Regions from separate parts of the Homo sapiens genome. Here all the other regions are linked to region 1. The links are contacts of gene promoters, found by promoter capture Hi-C in blood cells and fetal thymus (Javierre and others, 2016). All regions are on one chromosome and are shown on one strand. Each heading gives the region's core, a stretch centred on a gene start or on the middle of the fragment in contact. The rest is flanking DNA. Distances are from core to core; before and after follow the strand shown.

The links. Contacts are between HindIII fragments. The CHiCAGO score rates a contact against its expected background, and 5 or more counts as called.
Region 2: a fragment that was not itself captured here is called in contact with the fragment with the promoter of USP37 in region 1 in 5 of 17 cell types (fetal thymus, total B cells, total CD8 T cells and 2 more); the score reaches 6.2 in fetal thymus.
Region 3: the fragment with the promoter of PRKAG3 here is called in contact with the fragment with the promoter of USP37 in region 1 in 1 of 17 cell types (M0 macrophages); the score reaches 5.1 in M0 macrophages.

Annotation. Positions count from the first base shown.
Region 1 is chr2:218,566,944-218,570,029 of GRCh38, forward strand. USP37 (ubiquitin specific peptidase 37) reads right to left here and starts at 1,408. Exons shown (of 26, transcript NM_020935.3): 1 at 1,235-1,408. CNOT9 (CCR4-NOT transcription complex subunit 9) reads left to right here and starts at 1,896. Exons shown (of 8, transcript NM_005444.3): 1 at 1,896-2,035. The coding sequence starts at 2,012. RefSeq lists enhancers at 1,251-1,878, 1,879-2,506, 2,301-2,490 and silencers at 1,371-1,440, 1,531-1,590. The HindIII fragment of the contact is 2,574 bases long and covers 160-2,733 here.
Region 2 is chr2:218,306,613-218,309,698 of GRCh38, forward strand. All of the region lies in intron 2 of PNKD (PNKD metallo-beta-lactamase domain containing), which reads left to right. The region is part of intron 2 of LOC105373881 (a long non-coding RNA gene); the gene reads right to left. Among named protein-coding and RNA genes, the nearest start is that of TMBIM1, 16 kb to the left of the region's middle. The HindIII fragment of the contact is 816 bases long and covers 990-1,805 here.
Region 3 is chr2:218,830,364-218,833,449 of GRCh38, forward strand. It overlaps PRKAG3 (protein kinase AMP-activated non-catalytic subunit gamma 3), which reads right to left and starts at 1,440. Exons shown (of 14, transcript NM_017431.4): 1 at 1,375-1,440; 2 at 973-1,012; 3 at 383-538; 4 at 1-18. The coding sequence starts at 1,407. The HindIII fragment of the contact is 3,600 bases long and covers 626-3,086 here.

The DNA of each region.
Region 1 (3,086 bases), core at 158-2,657:
AAGGCTTTGGATTTGGCTGTGTTGCATCTGAAACTCCTAAGAAAAAAATCAAGTTGAGATGTCAAGCAGACAGCTGGCTATCTAGATGTGGAGCTGAAAACAAAGGGAATAGGCTGGAAATAACAATTTTTAAGTCATCAATATATAGATCAAATTTAAAGCTTAGGGAGGAATATAAGAGTAAAAGAAGAGGACCTAGGACTGAACCCAAATACTCATTTTACTTCATCAAACATCTTTAAGACAAGTGAGTACTTTTATATCACTGGGTTTTTCAGTCCTCCTTCCATTTTACCTTTCAGCAGAATGCAACACTACTGATGACTTTTTTCATGGCTTGCAAGACGCATCCTCCTCTATTGGTTATTAAACAGCAGGAATTCGTCAATGCTCCATCCTAGGTGCCTTTATTTTACAGCACTATACTCTTTTTCGGCAATTTCATCCACATCCATGGCTTCAATTACTATCAATATGGCAGATGACAAACACATACACACACCGCGCACATTTACGTACGCAGCCCAGAACTCTCCTAAGATCTCCAAACCCACTATATCCAACTGCCTACTTGACATTCCCTCTCAGGTATCTCTTCCAGTTAGACACTTGTCAGGAATTGCCACCTCAATAAAGGAATTTATACAGAGCTGAAATTTTGAGAGGAATACCCCAAAACCACTTTAGGACAACTCTTCAGGACACAGGATTTTATCATCAATCATCATTTCCTTTCATGGATCATGACTTAAAATAGTTACATCTAACAACCTGATCTGGCGGCTAGAAATGGGCGCAAGGAAATGCACAACAAAAATACAATTCATGTTTTGCAGTGAGGACTGGTCAAGAGGAAGGTGAAGATGGTCAAGAGAGTGAATGAGTATCATGTCCAAGGCCTGGTGGATGTGCCGTAACGAAAGTCACCTGAAGAGACAGCAGGCCCTGTTAGAAGGTAAGAGGCGAACGACAACAGCCCCAGAGAAAAGGGGCCAGGTTTGAGTTTCGGAGGGAGCGAGTGGCAGTGGAGACCAAGTCAAAGGAGAGGTGGAAGCCGGGGCAGTGCACCCAAAGGTAGTACCTGTGAGGCTGGGGGTGCATCGAGGGGTTGTGGGCGGGCTGAGTAGCAGCAGGGCGAACTCCAGAGGAGTGAACGCCGAGTGGGCGGATCGCACAGAAGGAGGAGGAGGTAGGGAAAACGGCTCAATTGAGAAGCTACCCCGGCCCGCCTTACCTGCGCCGAGGGTCCGGAGCCCCCGGACAGACCCGCGGAAAGCACGGAGCCCGCGAGGAGTGGGAGGAGCCGAGGGTAATGGAAGTAGGGATACCGAACCCAAAGGAGGGAGGCCGCTAGCTACCCCTAGTCAGGGAGAGCGGCTGATGGCGGGAACTGTGACCACACGCAAACACGCACGCACGCACGCACACTCGACGCGACCAGACAGGCGCGTGCGCGTCAGTCGAAAACTCCGCCCCTCACACGCCCTCGCCCCGCCCCGCCAGTACCTAGAGCGGCCTAGCCCGGGCAGCCCCGCCCCTGCCGTGACTGTAGTAGGCACGCGCACTTTCCACCTCACCCGATTTCGACGCCCCCCCACCATTTCCCTCCTACGCAACCCAGTCGGGCATGCGCAATAGTTGTCTTGCCGGGACTGTCCATCTTTTCCCGCCGTTCACTGGCTTTTGGAGGAGGGTCAGAGTTCACGCCGCTCTCTGGAAATAACTGCTCAAAGCCAGAAGTTGCGGGGACTAGTGGTCGCGGACGTCCTTCCGGTCCTAAATCTTAAGGGGCAAAGGACATACTCTGGGACTGTTAACTAGGCCCTGGAGGCGGGAAGAGGATGTGTGGGTGGGGTCAGGGGTGAGAGGTCAGAGGGCCGCGAAGTGGGCGGAGCGAGCCGGAGTCGGATGGCGGCTACGGCGGCTCATTGTTTTCCGCTGCAGGGGTGCTGAAGGGGGGACGCGGGTCGGACGCGTCCGGCTGTGGAAGAGAGCGGCGGCCGCTCACAACATGCACAGCCTGGCGACGGCTGCGGTGAGTGGCTGGGCCCCCAGGCTTGGAACCAGAATCCTTTCTCAGACCCACGTTTCGGCCTTCTCTCCTAATTCCCGGTGTCGGGTCCCTAGTCTGATTTTTTTCTGCCCTCAATCTCCAAGGCCCCGGTTCCCCTCCTCGGCACGCTTTGGTTGTGGTGGAGCCGGCCCCTATTTCCTTGCCGGACGCCTCTCGCGGCCTTCAGCGCGACCCATCGCGTTCTTTGCGGGCGCCGGGGCCTGGTCCCACGCCCGTAGCAGGCCATTCATTGATTTATTGCGCTGACCAACAGTTTCAGGGCGCCAGTTGTGTTCTGGGCGCCGGCGTCGATGAGGGGAATTCCATGGTCAATCTGACGCGGCCCCTGCTCTTAGAACTCACCACGTCGCAGCGGGAAGGAAATGGCTTCTAGTTCAAACCACTTGCTTTATTTATGGAAAACCTGAGGCCCGGAAAAGTGCATAATTTTTGCATCTGACTTAGGTTCTCTGCATTTAAAACTTTTCCTCGACACATCTCGTTTTACCCGCGTGATCTTTTAACAAAAAAGAAAGATAGTGTAATTCAGCTATCCGAAGTAATCCTACTTCTCTTGGCATTTAAATAAAATCTAGACTCCTTGCCATAGCCTGCACGGCCCTGTATGATGTGGTACTTAACCCACGTTTATAATCTCGTTTTATGTCTCTTGCTCCTAAAGCTTCAGCTACTCTGGCCACCTAACCCTCTGCAACGCGCTTATTTTTCTCCAAGATGCACTTTGTGGTCTCTATGCCTGGAGTGAATGTTCTTCTTATCCCTCCTCCTTTACATACACAGCATGAGTGTAATTGGTACCTCTTCCTTGAACTCTCCTTCCTCTCCTTAAACTGTTTATCCAAATCCATCTTTCTTCAGGTCTCTGCCTAAATCGGTCTCAGAGTGGCCTTCCCTGACTATCCTCTTCAAATTAGTTCCGCAGCCTCTAACTTTAGTAGAGTACCCTTTACAGCCCTGATCCCCGTGTAATTATTGTATTCGTTTATTTGTTGTCTGTCTCCTTGAGGGCAGG
Region 2 (3,086 bases), core at 148-2,647, 260 kb before region 1:
CTAGTGGAGCCAGGGTTCTAAGCTGGTCATTCCAAGTCTAGCACACAACCCCCAAACCCGATTCCACTCCCTCCCCGACAGTTCACCCTCCTTACCCACAAGGCACTTGAAGTGTTATGGGGCAGCGCCAGGAATTACTGCACAGCCTAAGGACCATCACAGAGACATGTGTGCAATGAAGTGTGCAAGTCATTACCTAGGCCTAAGAGATGCCCTCACCCAGGAGCTAGGTGTCGGGATTGGTTTGTTTGGTCATCTGACAAACACAGATGCTTCCTAACTTATAGAGTGGTTACATCCCAATAAACTCATCCTAAATTGAAAATATCCTAAGTGGAAAATGCATTAAATACACCTAAACCTACCAAACATCATAGCCTAGCCTAGCCTGCCTTAAACATGCACAAAACAATGACATTCGTTTACAGTTGGGCAAAATCATCTGGAAACACAGATGATGCCGTTGGCCAAGTTGGCAGACCTGAAGGAGAGGGTTGGGGTCACATGAGGATGAGGAGGTAGCTTTGGACAAATCAAGTTAAAGATCCCGTGTGGCAGCAGTCCCCAGCATTTTTGGCACCAGGGACCAGTTTCATGGAAGGCAGTTTTTCCAGGGACTGGGGGAGGCAATGGGGTTAGGGGGGTTCGGGATGATTCAAGCGCATTACATTTATTGTGCACTAGATTTCTATTATTATTACATTGTAATATATAATAAAATAATCATACAACTCACCATAAGGTACAATCAATGGGAACCCTGAGCTTGTTTTCCAGCAGCTGGATGGTCCCATCTGGGATTGATGGGAGACAGTGACAGATCATCAGGCATTAGATTCTCATAAGGAGCATGTAACCTACATCCCTCACATGCGCAGTTCACAATAGGGTGCGAGCTCCTATGAGAATCTAATGCTGCTGCTGATCTGACAGGAGGTGGAGCTCAGAGGGTAATGCAAGCAATGTGGAGCAGCTGTAAATACAGGTAAAGCTTTGCCTGTCCTGCTGTGTGGCCTGGCTCCTAACAGACCAAGGACCAGTATAGGGTTGGAGGGAAGCGGTTGGGGACCCCTACCGTGGGGCATCCAAGGGAGGCTCTTGTGGACATTTCTCCTTTGAAGTAATGAGTATACAGGTGGTAGCCTGTAAGTGGTGAATTTAGAGCTAGCAGAAGGGGAGCTTGTCAGAGAGGGGAGAGGAGAGCCAGAGAGACTGTGGCAGGGAAGGCAGAGGAAAAAGGCATGCTCCATTGTCATAGCTGCCACCCAGAGGTTCAGTGATAAGGGCTGAACAATGACAAATGGGTTTGACCTTCAAGGGGACAGCGCCAAATTAGGATGGAGCAGTACAGGCAGGGGCCCAGTTGAGTGGCCTGAGAATGGACGTGAAGTGAAAGGTAGAGACAGCAGAGAGGACTACTTTCTTTGTTTTAATAAAATAATAATTTTAAAAATTAAAATACTAATATGTTTTCATTATAGAAGATCAGAAAATATTTTAAAAGCACAAAAAAATAATAAACAAATGGTACCCCATGAGTCAATCAACCAAAGATTATGACTGGAAGCATTTTAGATTTTTTTTTTTTTTTTTTGAGACAGAGTCTCACTGCACATCACTCAGATGTGCAGTGGTGCCATCTCGGCTCACTGTAACCTCTGCCTCTCAGATTCAAGTGGTTTTCCTGCCTCAGCCTCCTGAGTAGCTGGGATGATTCAGGCACCCGCCACTACACCCAACTAATTTTTGTATTTTTAGTAGAGACGGGGTTTCACCATATTGGCCAGGCTGTTCTCAAACTCCTAAGCTTGTGATCTGCCCGCCTCAGCCTCCCAAAGTGCTGGGATTACAGGCACGAGCCACCGTGCCCAGCCTTAGATTTTTTTTAATCCATTTTTGTTTACAGAGGTACAATCGTATCAGTTATTCAAAATTTACCCAGTTTTGTGTCCTATTTTTTTCTCCACTACTTTCTTTCTTTCTTTTTTTTTTTTAGACGAGTATTGCTCTATCACCCAGGCTGGAGTGCAATAGCATAATCTCGGCTCACCGCAACCTCCACCTCCCGGGTTCAAGCGATTCTCCTGCCTCAGCCACCTGAGTAGCTGGGATTACAGGAGCTGCCACCACCCCTCAGCTAATTTTTGTATTTTTAGTAGACAGGGTTTCACCATGTTGGCCAGGCTGGTCTCAAACTCCTGACCTGAGGGGATCTGCCTGCCTCAACCTCCCAAAGTGCTGGGATTACAGGAGTGAGCCACCGTGCCCAGCCTCCTCCACTTCTTTCCTTCCTTTCTCTTTTTCTCTCTTTCTCTCTCTCTTTCTCTCTTTCTCCTTCCTTCCTTCCTTCCTCTTTCTGAGACAGAGTACAGTGGCGCAGTCATGTCTCACTGCAATCTTGACCTCCAGGATCAAGAGATCATTCAAGATCAGCCTGGGCAACATAGTGAGACCCTGTCTCTATTTAAATAAAAATAAAATAAAATAAGAGATCCTCCCACCACGGCCTCCCAAGTAGCTGGGACTACAGGCACCCACTACCACGTTCAGCTAATTGTCATATTTTTCGTAGAAATGGGGTTTCACAGCCGGGTGTGGTGGCCAAGACCAGCCTGGCCAACATGATGAAACCTGTTTTTATTAAAAATACAAAAAAATTAGCCGGGCGTGGTGGTGCATGCCTGTAGTCCCAGCTACTAGAGAGGCTGAGGCAGGAGAATTGCTTGAACCCAGGAGCCAGAGGTTGCAGTGAGCCAAGATTGTGTCACTGCACTCCAGCCTGGGCAACAGAGAGACTCCGCCTCAAAAAAAAAAAAAAAAAAAAAAGGAAAGAAAAGGAGAAAGAAAAAAGAAATGGGGTTTTGCTATGTTGGCCAGGTTGGTCTGGAACTCCTGACCTCAAGTGATCTGCCCCCTTGGCCTCCCAGAGTTACAGGCATGGCCACCACACCCAGCCTCCAGTTTATGGGAAAATATAAAATTTACCCAAAGTACTAGTTTGGATGCTCTTGGCTGCAGGTGTCAGAAAACCCAACTGAGGCCAGGCACAGTGGCTCAGCCTCTAATCCCAGCACTTTGGGAGGCCG
Region 3 (3,086 bases), core at 190-2,689, 260 kb after region 1:
CTGGCCTGGACCGGGGACCTGTTTGGGGGAGGAGGGGAAGAGGACAGTAACTCCATCTTCCAAAGCACGTTCTCATCTGCTGTCGCCATTCATCTCACAGCAGCAGTGGGAAGCCTGGATGCTGTGGCCCTATTTGCAGGTGAGGGGCTGACCTGAGAGTCGCCCCAGGTAGTGGCTCTGTCCCATCTTTCTGAGTTGGCCATGCTGGCCTCTGGCACTGCAGTGCCTTGTTCTCTACTATGTAGGGAGACTGAGGCCACAAGATGAAGGTTGGGTCCAACTCTGTGTTATGGAGGGACCTGAGGTAGAGACCAGACCCAGGCTCCTCTGGGATTTCCCACTCCCCTGGCTCCCACCTCCCCAGAACTGGCCTTGGCCTCACCTTCCCCCTGACCTGGTGGCTCCCCTTCCTCCACCGACTTCTGCCTTGTCCATCTCAAGGCTTTGGCCCTCCGTTTCCCACGGATTCTTTCTGAGCTGCTGGTCACAGCTGGTGATGGCCATGAGCTGCTGTTTTCTTGCTCTAGGAAGCTCATCTCTGGAAGGGGAATGGGGCCTGTTTGGTTAATAGGGAGTAATGCATCAAAATCAATTCAAATGTTATTCATAATCTTTAGGATTTGCAAGCTTCCAATGGGCTTTTCTCCAACATATTTCTCATTTAAAACTTACAGCAGCCTTATAAAGCAGGCATTATTATCATCCCTATTTTGCTAGTGAGGGACCAGAAATTCAGAGAGGTTAAGCAATTTGCTGCAAATCACACAGCAAGTAAGTGGGAAAGTCACTTCTGAAAAGAGGAAATTGGAGGTGAGGGAAACACACCTGGGGAAAGGAGGAAGAACAATGAGGAAGAAAGACCAAAAGGAGGAAGATAAAAGCCAGGCTGGGAGGGAATTGGGGTCCCAGAAAAGTGGGGGACAAGGAGGTGGGGGAAGAGGTTAGGCCCCAGGGAGGGGGCATTCTCCCTACCTTGATGCTCAGAACCCCCAAGGCTGCTCCAGGAAGGGGTCTGTGGGGAGAAGAGTTTCTGAAGGAGTGGGGAAAGTGCCTTACATTCCCAAACCCCTTCTCCCTGAACACACGCCTACACACCCATGCACACCAATACACACGCTCAGACACACGCCATACACAGACATGCAGCCATACACAAACACACACAGAAACACACACATCCAAACACTCCCAGGCACACAGAACCACACACACTCACAATACATATGCCCAAACATGCACATGCCCATATTCACGAGAAAATCCAGACCAAACACACACCAGAAGACACACACGCCCACACACACATTCACAGCCCGTGCGCTCAATCTTCTGGCCTCAGCTGCCCCGGCTCCGGCTCCCCTGGGACCCCCATACCCTGCGCAGTGCGTGCTCCAGCCCGGGCTCCATGTGGCCAGCCCCAGACCAACTGAGAGCAAGTGTGCGACACTGTGGCTGGGCTGCACTATTCTGGGCCCGGCCCCGGGCACCCTGCCCTGCCAGGATCGGTTTCTCTCTGATTGGGTGTCAGGCAATGAGAGGGAGGGGCCCCCATTTGCTCAGCTGCTACAGCCCTGAAGGCTGGGGGTTGCTGGGAGGGAAGGGGCGCACCGGATAATCTGGGTACTTGGTCCTCAGCTGCCTCCTGGGTCACTGAGGACAAGCTAGAGGGACCCTTTTTGAGGGGATGTGGCTTGGAGCATGTGGGAACATGGTCATTGAGCAGAGTTGGGCTCTCAGAGTCCTGAGCCCCTATTCCAAGAGCCTCCCTCATCTTTATCAGGCACCAAAGAAGGGAACATGGAGGCAGATCAGCATAACTTTCTTCCTTGTTCTAATTTCAGTAGAGGGTGGTGCTGGAGTTAGAAAGGGCAAGTTGCAGCCAGCTCAGAGGCTGGAGATGAGGCAAGGGGTTTGTGGGTAGTCCAGGAGAGCAGCTAGTGTATGTCCAGATGTCCAGATTTGAGTCCCTGGAGTGTGTCCCTCTCTCAGGTGAAGGAGATGGAGTGGGTGTTTCAGGCAGGTGAAGAGCTGTGAGAATCACCTCGAAGGCGTGGGGAGCACTCAGAGCTCCCCGCAGGGGAAGAGACATCTGTTTCCACCTGTGGTTGGGAGATATGCCTGGGTGTGCAGGTGTCCCAGCCCCCAACCCTCTGTGAGTGCTGTGCCTACATCCCTGGTGCCAACAGGATCCCAGCCTGGCTCCAGTAGCTGCCACCCTCTTCCTTGGCATTCCCGGAGCCTGAGTCAATGTCCGGATTGGGAATGCTGACCCAGCTGCTCCGGCTTTCCTCTCTCTGCCCCTCCCTTTCTCTCCTCCTTCCAGCCTCTTCCATCCCAGCCCTGGCCCTGGAGTGGACACTCAACAACAGACTGGTGAATTTCTGTCTGAGTTTATTACATGTGTTTTCCATCAACCCTCAATGTTCCTACTCTGCCAATGGGGAGGGTGGAGGAGAATGGAGTTGGGAGGACAGCCTTGGCCAGGGCTGTTCCTGTGGTCCCCAGCCTTTCTCAAGGACATCTGCTCACTGGACAGTGGGAACTGGCTCAGAGGACAGAGATCAGTGTAAGAGAATTTCCTTCACACCAAGCATGTTTTTTCAAATGGACTCAAGATAGCCACCACCAGTTTGAGAGAAAGGAGAGTAGGAAGAACACCAAGTCCAGAGTGTTCAAGCATAAAAATAAGGTCTACATGAGGCCATTGGCTGTGGTTACTCAAACATGGAGCCACTCAGAAGGCTTCTAAGATTGTGAGGGTGTTGTATTGGCAAAGAAACCATAAGCCTGATCAGCAAAGCCTGGTTTGACACCCCTTCCCTTGCCTTATTCCCAGCCCTCCAAATCCGCACCAGCAGGAAGAGGGCTGTGAAGGCTGGAAGGACTGCAGAAAGCACAAGTTTGCCAGTGTGGGACAAAGGATATTGGATAAACAACAGCTTCCCAGCAGGAAAAGCCAGAGGCTACATAGGAGAGTGGAAAGGGGAGATCTTCCCAGAGAGCAGAACCAGGGGTGGTCAAATGTGCTGACCAAGAACTTACTCCACTGCCAGGAAAGGGCTTAGCCATTCCTGCCCAACCAGATT